2 separate regions of the Homo sapiens genome follow, and region 2 is linked to region 1. Evidence: promoter capture Hi-C in human tissues and cell types (Jung and others, 2019). All regions are on one chromosome and are shown on one strand. The core of a region is centred on a gene start or on the middle of the fragment in contact, and the rest is flanking DNA. Distances in the headings are between cores, read along the strand shown.

Evidence for each region. Contacts are between HindIII fragments. The study calls those that stand out against the background at their distance.
Region 2: a contact is called between a fragment that was not itself captured here and the fragment with the promoter of POP7 in region 1, in 1 of the 25 tissues and cell types used here (aorta).

The regions. Positions count from the first base shown.
Region 1 is chr7:100,702,596-100,708,944 of GRCh38, forward strand. It overlaps POP7 (POP7 ribonuclease P/MRP subunit), which reads left to right and starts at 3,526. Exons shown (of 2, transcript NM_005837.3): 1 at 3,526-3,709; 2 at 4,226-4,891. The coding sequence starts at 4,236. The coding sequence ends at 4,658. RefSeq lists an enhancer at 2,865-3,134. The HindIII fragment of the contact is 15,036 bases long and covers 1-6,349 here.
Region 2 is chr7:100,554,572-100,560,920 of GRCh38, forward strand. It overlaps AGFG2 (ArfGAP with FG repeats 2), which reads left to right. Exons shown (of 12, transcript NM_006076.5): 6 at 1,039-1,164. Among named protein-coding and RNA genes, the nearest start is that of SAP25, 16 kb to the right of the region's middle. RefSeq lists enhancers at 5,164-5,213, 5,484-5,533. The HindIII fragment of the contact is 7,017 bases long and covers 1-5,952 here.

The DNA of each region.
Region 1 (6,349 bases), core at 2,276-4,775:
GGCGCGTGCTGATAGTCCCAACTACTTGGGAGGCTGAGGCGGGAAGATGACTTGAGCCCATGAGGTTGAGGCTGCAGTGAGCCAAGATTGTGCCACTGCACTCCAAGCCTGGGTGACAAAGTGAGACACTGTCTTATAAACAAACAAAAAATTATTTTTTAAAGAGAGATAGTTGGCTGCACTTGTGTGAATCTATTTCTGAGCTCTCAATTCCATCTTATTGATTTTTGTGTCTATCCCACTGGGGAAACCATACTTTCTTGATAACTTTATTTATATAGTAAGTCTTAAAATCAGGTAGTGTGATTCCAACAACTTTTTCAAAGTGGTTTTAACTATTCTACTTCTTTTGCCTTTCCATATAAAGTTTAGAATAAACATCTATATTTAATACAAAAAAACTGCTGGGATTTTTGTAGGAATTGCATTACGCCTATAGATCAATTTGGGTTTTTGTTGTTGTTGTTTGAGACGGAGTTCGCTCTGTTGCCTAGGCTGGAATGCAGTGGTGTGATCTTAGCTCACTGCAACCTCTGCCTCCTGGGTTCCACCTATTCTCCTGCCTCAGTCTCCTGAGTAGCTGGGATTAGTACCAGGCACGTGCCACCACACCCGGCTAATTTTGTATTTTTAGCAGAGACGGGGTTTCACCATGTTGGCCAGGCTGGTCTTGAAATCCTGACCTCAAGTGATCTGCCCACCTTGGCCTCCAAAGTGCTGGGATTAAAGGCGTGAGCCACCATGCTTGGCCCCTATAGATTAATTTGAAGAGAATTGGTATCTTTACTATAATATGTTGGATCTTCCAATTCAATCCCAATCTTGTGGTTAATGAAAGAATCTGAAGTAAAGGAAAGAACTATGGGATTGAAATGGGGTGCTGGGAGCAAATTTCTCTAGAATCTGAACTCTCTTCAACCTTTGATCAAATGGGGTCAGACTCCATCCTAGGGAACTGAGAAGGGCCTGGGAGACATAAATATGCCAACTCACCTGTGTAGGTTTACAGTTTACAACATTACCTTGGGTTTCACAACTCAACTGCAAGAAAGGAATTAGCATCCCCATTTTTTTTAAACCAGTGTTTTCATATCCTTTATTCCCAAGTCAGTGTATTTGTCAGTTTGAATGTTACATGTATGATAAAACAGATTATGAAAAGCATACTAACGAGAACATTATTTTATATAACTGATCATTGAATATGCAACCTCTTGCAACAATAACTTAATGGACCCAACTCTACCTTCTAAATGGACCAATTTTATGATTCTCCTAAAATGTTTTGAGTTGGGTATAGTTTCTTGTTGCTTCTTCCTGTGATCCAAAGCTTAAAAATGAGGCTGGGCACAATAGCTCAAGCCTGTCATCCCAGCACTTTAGGAGGCCAAGGTAGGAGGATCACTTGAGATCAGGAGTTTGAGACCAGCCTGGCCAACATGGTGAAACCCCATCTCTACTGAAAATACAAAAATTAGCCGGGCGTGGTGGTGCACACCTGTAATCCCAGCTACTCAGGAGGCTGAGGCAGGAGAATCGCTTTAACCTCAGAGGCAGAGGTTGCGGTAAGCTGAGATCGTGCCTCTGCACTCCAGCCTGGGCAACGGAGCGAGACTCCGTCTCAAAAAAAAAAAAAGGAATGAATCTCTGGAAACTAGCAATTAGAGCCAGACCTCCCTAGGACCAAGGAGACAGGAGTTGGAGAAAAAGACACTACAGGTGATGCCCACAGTCTCAAGCACTGTGGCATATGCTTGACCTCAGAGCATTCCAGTACTCAAGGTCAAGTGTGGCACCATCCGTATATCCTGTCATCGCAAATGCCCGCAACTGCTACAATTAACAGGATATGGGAGAGAGGAGGCACATCATGTGAGGAGGAATGAATCGCTCCCAACAATTATGTGAACATTTCGAAAATTTCTTTTTTTTTTTTTTTGAGATGGAGTCTGGCTCTGTCCCCCAGGCTGGAGTGCAGTGGCGCGATCTTGGCTCTCTGCAAGCTCCGCCTCGTGGGTTCACGCCATTCTCCTGCCTCAGCCTCCCGAGTAGCTGGGACTACAGGCGCCTGCCACCATGCCCGGCTAATTTTTTGTATTTTTAGTAGAGGCGGGGTTTCACCGTGTTAGCCAGGATGGTCTCGATCTCCTGACCTCGTGATCCGCTCGTCTCAGCCTCCCAAAGTGCTGGGATTACAGGCGTGAGCCACCGCGCCCGGCCAACATATCGAAAATTTCAATACCAAGGATTAACTTCTAAAATACAACTTTATATGCTAGTGCATGCCCGTAGTCCAAGCTGTTCAGGTGGCTGGGGCGGGAGAATTGCTTGAGCCCAGGAGTTCAGGGCTGCAGTGAGCCGTGTTAACGCCACTGCACTCCAGCCTGGGTGACAGAGTAAGGCCCTGTCTCAAAAAAATGAAATAAACTGGCCGGGTGCGGTGGCGTGCGCCTGTAATTCCAGCTACTCAAGAGGCTGAGGCACAAGAATCGTTTGAACCCGGTAGGCAGAGGTTGTAGTGAGCTGAGATCACACCACTGCAGTCCAGCCTGGGCCACAGAGACCCTGTCTCAAAAATAAATGCATGCAAGTTTGTAGACAGAAGCTATACAGCTAGCCATTCAATAAAATGCATGTGCAATATGGTGGAGCTGTTGTGAACATCCCCATTTGAATGCTGGGCAAACAGAGTAGTTCAAGGTCCCCAGTGCAGCAGGTCCTACTCATTTCAGAAGGGAACTCTGCAGAAACTATGCCCATCTGGGCAGAGCCCCCACTCCACTGGCCTGAGAGCCACGAATCCGGCGCGCGTCCTCCCCACCTTGCCCGCCAGGGGGCGGCAAGTCCCTGATCCGGGGTCGCCTGCTGCAGAGCTGGTGGGAGATGGTTGAGGGGCGTGGGTGGGTCAGCGTTCCTTGGGGACCCGTGAAGCCTGGGCTTAGGGCTCACAGCGTGGGTCCCCAGCACAGACAGGAGGCGGACAGCTTCCCGTGAACTGCAGGGGAGTCCCGGGACGCTGTCCTCCAGCGAGGTGGGGACCGGCTATGTCCCTCAGTTCCCCCTCGGTCCTCGGGCCACAGGGACATTAGACTAGGGGGTCAGTTCTGCCAGCCCTGCCCAGGCCTCTTCTGACCAGAGGAGCTGCGACGGACGCGGAGTTCAGGCCCCTTGGCGACCGCGGTCTCCTGAACTCGGCCCCTTCCCTGCTCCCATGGGGAAGAACCCTGCCCCTAGAACAGCCTCCCCTCCAGGTGTCTTCCCTACGCTACCCCTCCGCCGGCCGGGAACTCCGCCAGGCCTAGAGACGCCGACCCGGCCCTTTCTAGCTCCTCCCCGGCTCGGACCTGGTTCCCGCCCTCGGCCGCCCGCCAGTTCCCGAGGCGTACACGTGTAGATCCCGTCACGCCCGGAAGTCTCGCGTTTCTCAAACGCCTCGCGCAGTCGCCCTTGCGCTCAGGGAAGGGGCGGGGCGAACGGAAGCCGGGAAGGCGATTCATAGCTCGCGGGGTACGGGCGCGCGTGCGCACTCCGCAGCCCGTTCAGGACCCCGGCGCGGGCAGGGCGCCCACGAGCTGGCTGGCTGCTTGCACCCACATCCTTCTTTCTCTGGGACCTGGGGTCGCGGTTACTTGGGCTGGCCGGCGAACCCTTGAGTGGCCTGGCGGGGAGCGGGCCTCGCGCGCCTGGAGGGCCCTGTGGAACGAAGAGAGTAAGCACGGGAGGGGCGGCGGAGGGGCGCGAGTTTGAGGGCGACGCGATGAATGAATCGGAACGGGGGGTGGGGAGACGCGGGATCTGGAGGTGAGTGGGAGAGGACGAGGGGCCGGAAGGAAACAGGGACATCGAGTGTGTCCCTTCTCGGGTGCACCCTTTATTTTTGTTTTTGTTTTTGTTTGAGACAGAGGCTTGCTCTGTTTCCCAAGCTAGAGTGCAGTGGCGGGCGCGATCACGGCTCACTGTAGCCTCGAACTCCCGATCTCAAGCGATCCTCCCCCCTCGGCCCGGGTAATTAAAAAAATTTTTCTTAAGACAGGGTCTTGCTATGTTGCCCAGGCTGATCTCAAACACCCGGGCTCCAGTGATCCTCCCGCCTCGACCTTCCAAAGTGCTGAGGTTACAGGCGTGAGCCACTGCCCGGCCAGGTGCACCCTTTGTACAGGAAAAGGGGTAGGAAAGGCTTCGAGGTCCCTCTGAGCCCTCTGATCGCGTCCCTTTCCCACGCCAGGGCACACAGCATGGCAGAAAACCGAGAGCCCCGCGGTGCTGTGGAGGCTGAACTGGATCCAGTGGAATACACCCTTAGGAAAAGGCTTCCCAGCCGCCTGCCCCGGAGACCCAATGACATTTATGTCAACATGAAGACGGACTTTAAGGCCCAGCTGGCCCGCTGCCAGAAGCTGCTGGACGGAGGGGCCCGGGGTCAGAACGCGTGCTCTGAGATCTACATTCACGGCTTGGGCCTGGCCATCAACCGCGCCATCAACATCGCGCTGCAGCTGCAGGCGGGCAGCTTCGGGTCCTTGCAGGTGGCTGCCAATACCTCCACCGTGGAGCTTGTTGATGAGCTGGAGCCAGAGACCGACACACGGGAGCCACTGACTCGGATCCGCAACAACTCAGCCATCCACATCCGAGTCTTCAGGGTCACACCCAAGTAATTGAAAAGACACTCCTCCACTTATCCCCTCCGTGATATGGCTCTTCGCATGCTGAGTACTGGACCTCGGACCAGAGCCATGTAAGAAAAGGCCTGTTCCCTGGAAGCCCAAAGGACTCTGCATTGAGGGTGGGGGTAATTGTCTCTTGGTGGGCCCAGTTAGTGGGCCTTCCTGAGTGTGTGTATGCGGTCTGTAACTATTGCCATATAAATAAAAAATCCTGTTGCACTAGTGTCCTGCCATCCCACTGCCACTGATTCTTTCCTGTGTAAATTCTGTGTGTGCCTGAATAGGGATGGTAGGAAACGCTACAGGTATCTAGGTGAAAGGGGAACCCAAGTGTTTCTTGCCTCTATAGAGAGCATAGATTATGCTATGAGCAGTGTAACAAAACAGTACAGTGCAGAAACCCAGTCATCCCAATGTTTGTTTGTTTGTTTGTTTTTTGAGACAGAGTCTCACTCTGTCACCCAGGCTGGAGTGCAGTGGTGCAATCTTGGCTCACTGCAAGCTCCACCTCCTGAGTTCACGCCATTCTCCTGCCTCAGCCTCCTGAGTAGCTGGGACTACAGGTGCCTGCCACCACACCCTGGCTAATTTTTTTGTATTTTTAGTAGAGACAGGGTTTCAGCGTGTTAGCAGGGATGTTCTCGATCTCCTGACCTTGTGATCCACCCATCTCGGCCTCCCAAAGTGCTAGGATTACAGGCGTGAGCCACCGTGCCCAGCCCCAATGTTTGTTTTAAAGATTTTCGTCTTCTAGTTGGGTGCAGTGGCTCCAGCCTGTAGTCTGAGCTACTGGCGGAGGCTGAGGCGGAAAGAGTGCTTGAGCCTGGGAGTTTGAAGGTGCAGTGAGTTATGATCATGCCACCTGCACTCCAATCTAGATGACATACTGAGACCTAGTCTATGCAAAAAAACCACTTTTTTTTTTTTTCTGAGATGAAGTCTTGCTCTGTCACCCAGGCTGGAGTACAGTGGTGCCATCTTGGCTCACTGCAACGTTCGGCTCCTGGGTTCAAGTGATTCTCCTGCTTCATCCTCCCCAGTAGCTGGAATTACAGGTGAGTGCCACCACGCCCAGCTAATTATTTTTGTATTTTTTTAGTGGAAACACCATGTTGGCCAGGCTGTTCTCGAACTCCTGACCTCAAGTGATCTGCCCGCCTTGGCCTCCCAAATGCAAAAAATTTTTGAAAACTAGATGGGTGTAGTGGTTTGCACCTATAATCCCAGCTACCTCGTTAGCTGAGGCAGGAGGATCGCTTGAGCCCAGGAGTTCAAGGCTGCAGTGAGCTGTGATCACCGCACTACACTCCTCCAGCCTTGCTGACACAGCAAGACCGTATCTCAAAAAAAAAAAAAAAAAAAAAAAGGAAGCAAACTAAGACTTCAGGACCTTCTTAGTGTCAGGCTCCATGGTAGGGACTGACAAGTGGCTTCATTTAATTCCTGGACCTGCAGGGCCTACCTAGATGATACCCGGGCTTTCAGGTGCAGAGCCCTTCAGACCCTTTTTTTTTTTTTTTTTTTTTTTTGAGACAGCTTCACTCTGTCATCCAGGCTGGAGTGCAGTGGTGCGATCTCAGCTCACTGCAACCTCTGCCTCCTGGGTTCAAGGGATTCTTCTGCCTCAGCCTCCTGAGTAGCCGGGACTATAGGCATCCATCACCATGCCCTGCAATTTTTTG
Region 2 (6,349 bases), core at 1,194-3,693, 150 kb before region 1:
AGATTATTCTTCCCCCAAATCAGCAATAGCCAGTAGAGGGTTCAGCAGCATAGAATCTGTTTTCCCTTTTTAAAAATTTTCAAGCCAGACACAGTGGCTCACACCTGTAATCCTAGCATTTGAGAGGCTGAGGTGGGCAGATCACCTGAGGTCAGGAGTTCAAGACCAGTCTGGCCAACATGGTGAAACCTCATCTCTACTAAAAAGAAAAAAAAAATTAGCCAAGTGTGGTGGCATGTGCCTGTAGTCCCAGCTACTTGGGAGGCTAAGGCAGGAGAATTGCTTGAACCTAGGAGGTGGAGGTTGCAGTGAATCACAATTGCATCACTGGACTCCAGCCTAGGTGACAGAGTGAGACTCCGTCTCAAAAAAAAAAAAAAAAAAAAAAAAATTCAAGCTCCTTCCTCCATGAAAAAAAATTTTCATGCTCCAAACTAGGCCCTGACAAAAATGTTAATGCCTCATGGAGTAAGGACAGAAGAGGGCAGGGAGTGAACCTGGAGGCCCTGGGTGCCCCTGTTCCCCTGTGTGGGTCTGGCTCTTGGCCCCAGGCCCCACCCATTTCCCTCTGAAGAGAACCCTGTGGAAAGGCAGATGTCCCATAAGAGTGGCCTTTGGCCTTTAGAATTAGTAGCTATATTACATGGATAGGCATATACATTTTCTTTTCTTTTTCTGTTGTGTGTGTGTGGTTTTTTTTTTTTTTTTTTTTTTTTTTTTGAGTCAGAGTCTCATTCTGTCACCCAGGCTAGAGTAGAGTGGCACAATCTCGGCTCACTGCTAGCTCCACCTCCCAGGTTTAAGCAATTCTCATGCCTCAGCCTCCAAGGTAGCTGGGATTACAGGCATGTACCACCACGCCCAGCTAATTTTTATATTTTTAGTAGAGACAGATTTCACCATGTTGACCAGGCTGGTCTTGAACTTCTGACCTCAAGTGATCTGCCCACCTCGGCCTCCCAAAGTGCTGGAATTACAGGCGTGAGCTACCACACCCGACAATTTTCTATATAACCTTTATGTTTCTTCCACCTACAGGCCAGACACCTTCCCAAGGAGGCTTTGCCAACTTTGATGCCTTTAGCAGTGGCCCCAGCTCTTCTGTGTTTGGAAGCCTCCCTCCAGCTGGTCAAGCCTCGTTCCAGGCCCAGCCAACTCCTGCAGGTAAACTCTGCCCCACTGGCTTCCTTTCTCTTCCAACCGTGTCCATTTGTTCATGTCTATAAATCACCATTCATATCCTCACTATCCTAAAGAACTGCTCAAAGCAGCAAAGCACAAAGAGAAGCAGCTCCAGGAGAGGATGAGCGTGTCTGACACATTCTTGTCAGGGAGAGGGGGCTCTACTGTTCTGCTTTTTCATGAAAGGAAAATGACTAAGATTGCAGCAGGAGCTGTGTGGGTTATACACTAGGAAACTTTTCACTAGGAAGTATGGAAGACCTGAGTCCTAGAAAAATTGAAAATGGACGTGACTTTTTCTCTAAGGTGCTCTTGTCTGCATAGTACGCTGTCCCAAAGGGTCAAGGGTCAAGGTAGTCTCCAGAAGTCCTCATCCATCCCTCTAAGACCAAAGGCCTGTAAACTCTATGTTGCTGCCAGCCACAATGGCTCACGCCTGCAATCCTAACACTTTGGGAGGCCGAGGTGGGAGGATCGCTTGAGCCCAGGAGTTTGAGGCTGTAGTGAGTGATTATTGTGCCATTGCACTCCAGTCTGGGTGACAGAGTGAGACCCCATCTCAAAACAAACGAACGAACAAACAAAACCAAATAAACTATGTTATTTAGCCATTGCAAGAGACTCTTCAGGCCTTCTTAAAGCATTCTGCTCCTTCCTAAGCTCTACACATTGAGTCTTCATAGCCTTTGGGTGCCTTCTGCCATTGGACATCCTGGACACATGGGAGGGCAGCTGCAGTGCTCGCCGTCAGGCTCAGATGTCTGGGGAAAAGCCAGTGACATACACTCTTTCTTTCTCCCTTCCTCTACCCACCCTTCTCTTCTCCACCCTCACTGCCAGCCAGTCGGATGCTAACTGAAAGTTACAGCTTTGGTAAGTTATTATCCCCACCCCAGAGCCTACCCAAGTGCCTCTGATCATAGAGTTTTGAGGGCTGGAAGGAACCCTTAAAATTTGGCCATTTGACAGATAAGGCAGTTAAGCAATTTCCCTAGTCATGCAGGCCACAGAGCGACCAAGCTGAGACCAGAGCCCAGACTTCTTGACTCATGCTCTGCCCACAGCCTTCTCACTGTGCCACTGTGAGCTGATTAGCTGCTTTTGTTTTTATTTTATCGTTTTGGAGGGCTATAAGAAGAAACATTTTATATTGATAAAAGTTGGCTGGGCGTGGTGGCTCACATCTGTGATGCCAGCACTTTGGGAGGCCCAGGTGGGCAGATCACCTGAGGTCAGGAGTTTGACATAAGCCTGGCCAACATGGTGAAACACCGTCTCTACTCAAAATACAAAAATTAGCTGGGCATGGTGGCAGGCACCTGTAATCCCAGCTACTCAGGGGACTGAGGCAGGAGAATCACTTGAACCTGGGAGACAGAGGCTGCAGCGAGCCGAGATCCTGCCACTGCACTCCAGCCTGAGTGACAGAGTAAGACTCTTGTCTCAAAAAAAAAAAAAAAAGTTAAAATTCACAAAGAGGTTCTCAAAATCATGTACTTAAAATAACTGACCGCATACCCATGAGATTCACGAAGCAAAAACTATTAGACACAATCAGAATTTAATAAGCCAAAGGACTAGGAGACTATAATATGCTTTCCCACATGACTAATAGACAAGTAAGAAATAAACTATAGGAAACAAAATCTCCATAAATTCTAACAAAGACAAATCACATAGGTCACATTTTGGTTTTTGTTGTTGTTTTGTTGTTTGTGTGTTTTTTGAGACAGAGTCTTACTCTGCTGCCCAGGCTGGAGTGCAATGGCGTGATCTCATTCAAGCGATTCTCCTGCCTCAGCCTCCTGAGTAGCAGGATTACAGGCGCATGCCACCATGCCCGGCTAATTTTTGTATTTTTAGTAGAGACGGGGTTTCACCATGTTGGCTAGGCCGGTCTCAATCTCCTGACCTCAAGTGATCCGCCTGCCTTGGCCTCCCAAAGTTCTGGGATTATAGGCATGGGCCACTATGCCTGGCCATAGGTCACATTCTGTATGATAAAAGATGACACAAACAAAGCTTAAAGGTATGAAACAGATGGAGAGAAGATACAACATGGAAAACAGATGGAAATTAGTATCCATAAAGTATTTTTAAAATTCCTGTGAATATGAAAATATAATAATGGACAAGACATATAAGCAGGTAACACCCAGAAAAAAAAATATGAAAATAGGCCAGGCGCGGTGGCTCATGCCTATAATCCCAGCAGTTTGGGAAGCTGAGGCAGGTGGATCACCTGAGGTCAGGAGTTCAAGACCAGCCTTGCCGATATGGTGAAACCCTGTCTCTGCTAAAAATACAAATATTAGCCGGGCATGGTGGCAGGCGCCTGTAATAGCAGCTACTTGGGAGGCTGAGGCAGGAGAATCACTTGAACCCGGGAGGCGGAGGTTGCAGTGAGCAGACATCGTGCTGTTGCGCTCCAGCCTGGGCGACAAGAGCGAGACTTTGTCTCGAAAAACAAAAAAACAAAAGAAAATATCCTCAACCTAATTAATCAGAGAAATGCAAACTAGGATAAGATAGTTTTGCACATCATGTTGGCAAAATTTTTAGATTGATAATGGCCAGTATTATGTGGGGGAAAATGACCTTCTTGTGCGCTGTTGGCAGGAATTGTACATTGGTGCAGGAATATTCGATTTAGTAAGAAAGGTGTGCTCCTAGGAATGGGAGCACTCGAGGAAACAGCCTATATAAAGTTGTTATAGATGCGTCCCTTCTGAAATGCCTTCCCAGTACAATTGATTGCTCTAAAGACAGAGTTTTTTTTGTTTTTGTTTTTGTTTTTTTTTTTTTTTAGACGGAGTCTCACTCTGTCACCCAGGCTGGGGTGTAGTGGCACAATCTCGGCTCACTGCAAACTCCGCCTCTCGGGTTCACGCTATTCTCCTGCCTCAGCCTCCTGAGTAGCTGGGGCCACAGGCACCCGCCACCACACCTGGCTAATTTTTTGTATTTTTAGTAGAGACAGGGTTTCACCGTAAAGACAGTTTTTGGGGCAGACTCAGAGAGAAGGAAGGGCTCAGCTCCACGGATGTCCCAAGCATTAAACCTTTTGTCCACTATCTGGCTGTCTCAAAAAGCAGTCAGTCACTGGGCGCAGTGGCTCATACCTGTAATCCCGGCACTTTGGGAGGCTGAGTGGGGTGCATCATTTGAGGTCAGAAGTTTGAAACCAGCCTGGCCTACATGGTGAAACCCCTCTCTACCAAAATACAAAAATTAGCCAGGCATGGTGGTGCGTGACTGTAGTCCCAGCTACTGGGGAGGCTGAGGCAGGAAGATTGCTTGAACCCGGGAGGCTGAGGTAGCAGTGAGCTGAGATTGCGCCACTGCACTCTGGGTGACAGAGCAAGACTCTGTCTCAAACAAAACAAAAACAGTCAATCTACAGCCAAACCCAGAGCCAAGGAACATTTCCGAGGATCCTGCCATTGTTGGGTGCCTTCATGCATTATGTCCATGAGGAAGGAAAGAGCTTCCCTTTGCAGGAAACTGGCTCAACTTGGCCCAGATCTAATGCTGATAATTGGCAGAACCGCTTCCCACTACACCATGATCATGCAGGTGTTCCCGTGAGTGTGACTTAGCTGTTGGGTGTGAACTGAGAGAGGAGATTTTGAGAGGTGGGTGTCTCTTCTGACAAACCTGCTTTTATTTTTATATTTCTGAGGGGGAGTATGGAGAGAGGGGTTTTCAAAACTGCTTCTCTCCCTCAAACTGTGATAAGGCAGGGTAGAAATCTAGCTGCGTGGTATAAGAAGCGCATGAAGGCCGGGTGTGGTGGCTCATGCCTGTAATCCCATCACTTGGGGAGGCTGAGGTGGGCAGATCACCTGAGCTCAGGAGTTTGAGACCAGCCTGGGCAACATGGCAAAACTTCATTTCTACCAAAAATACAAATAATTAGCTGGCCATAGTGGTGCGTGCCTGTAGTCCCAGCTACTCAGGAGGCTAAGGTGGGAGAATCAGCTGAGCCCTGAAGGTCGAGGCTGCAGTGAGCTGAGATCATGCCACTGCACTCCAGCCTGGGCAATTGGAATGAGACCCTGTCTCAAAAAAAAAAAAAAAAAGTGCATGAAATGAAAAGCAAACAGGAGTGCAGGTGTTTCTTGGGCCACCGCCTCCTTTGTGAGAATGCACCCTCTGTGCAAAGGGCCAACCCTGCCTGGGCTAGGGATGGTTCTGCCCCCTAGTGTCCACAGGGAGGCACAGCATGGCCTGCAGCCTCTCTCCCAGCCTGGTCCTCACTGGGTGAAGCTCCTGGAACATGCAGGACCACAGCAGCACAAAGAGTCAGCCATCCGAGGAAAGGGAGCCGTGCTTGCGTGGAAATTCCACATACTGTACTTGGAGGCAGGCAGGCAGGGAAAGGCCTCGGCTGGGAGAGTCAGTAGAGGATCCAACACCATGCTGCTGGCTTTTTTTTTTTTTTGGAAACAGTCTTGCCCTGTCGCCCAGGCTGGAGTGCAGTGGCTCAATCTTGGCTCACTGCAATCTTCCTCTTCCAGGTTCAAGTGATTCTGGTGCCTCAGCCTCCCGTGTAGTTGGGATTACAGGTATGCACCACCACGCCCAGCTTATTTTTGTGCTTTTAGTAGAGACAGGGTTTTGCCATGTTGGCCAGGCTTGTCTTAAACTCCTGACCTCAAGCGATCTGCTTGCCTCAGCCTCCCAAAGTGCTGGGATTACAGGTGTGAGCCACTGGGCCTGGCCCCACCCAGGTGGCTTTCTAGCCTGTCTTGCATCCTGTGGATTAGAAAGGATTGATGACCAAGTAAGCACAGTGGCATTGTAGCCTTGCCCAGGAGGAAGCTGGCAGCCAGCACTCATTCATCTAGAAAGCCCAGGCATTTAGGAAGGAGGTGGCAAAGGAGAGCACTGTCTTACAAGTGCCGACACTCAGTGAGAGGGAGCGGGGCTTCAGGACCTGGCAGCAGGTAGGCACTGGGCACTTCGTCTTCCCTACTAGATTCTCAGCTTCACCCATTTAGGGCCCGGGTCGCTGTTATTTATGCATAGTGCCTGGCATGTGGAAGATCTCCCTTTTTTTTTTTTTTTTTTTTTGAGACGGAGTCTCACTCTGTCGCCCAGGCTGGAGTGCAGTGATATGATCTCGGCTCACTGCAAACTCCACCTCCCGGGTTCACGCCATTCT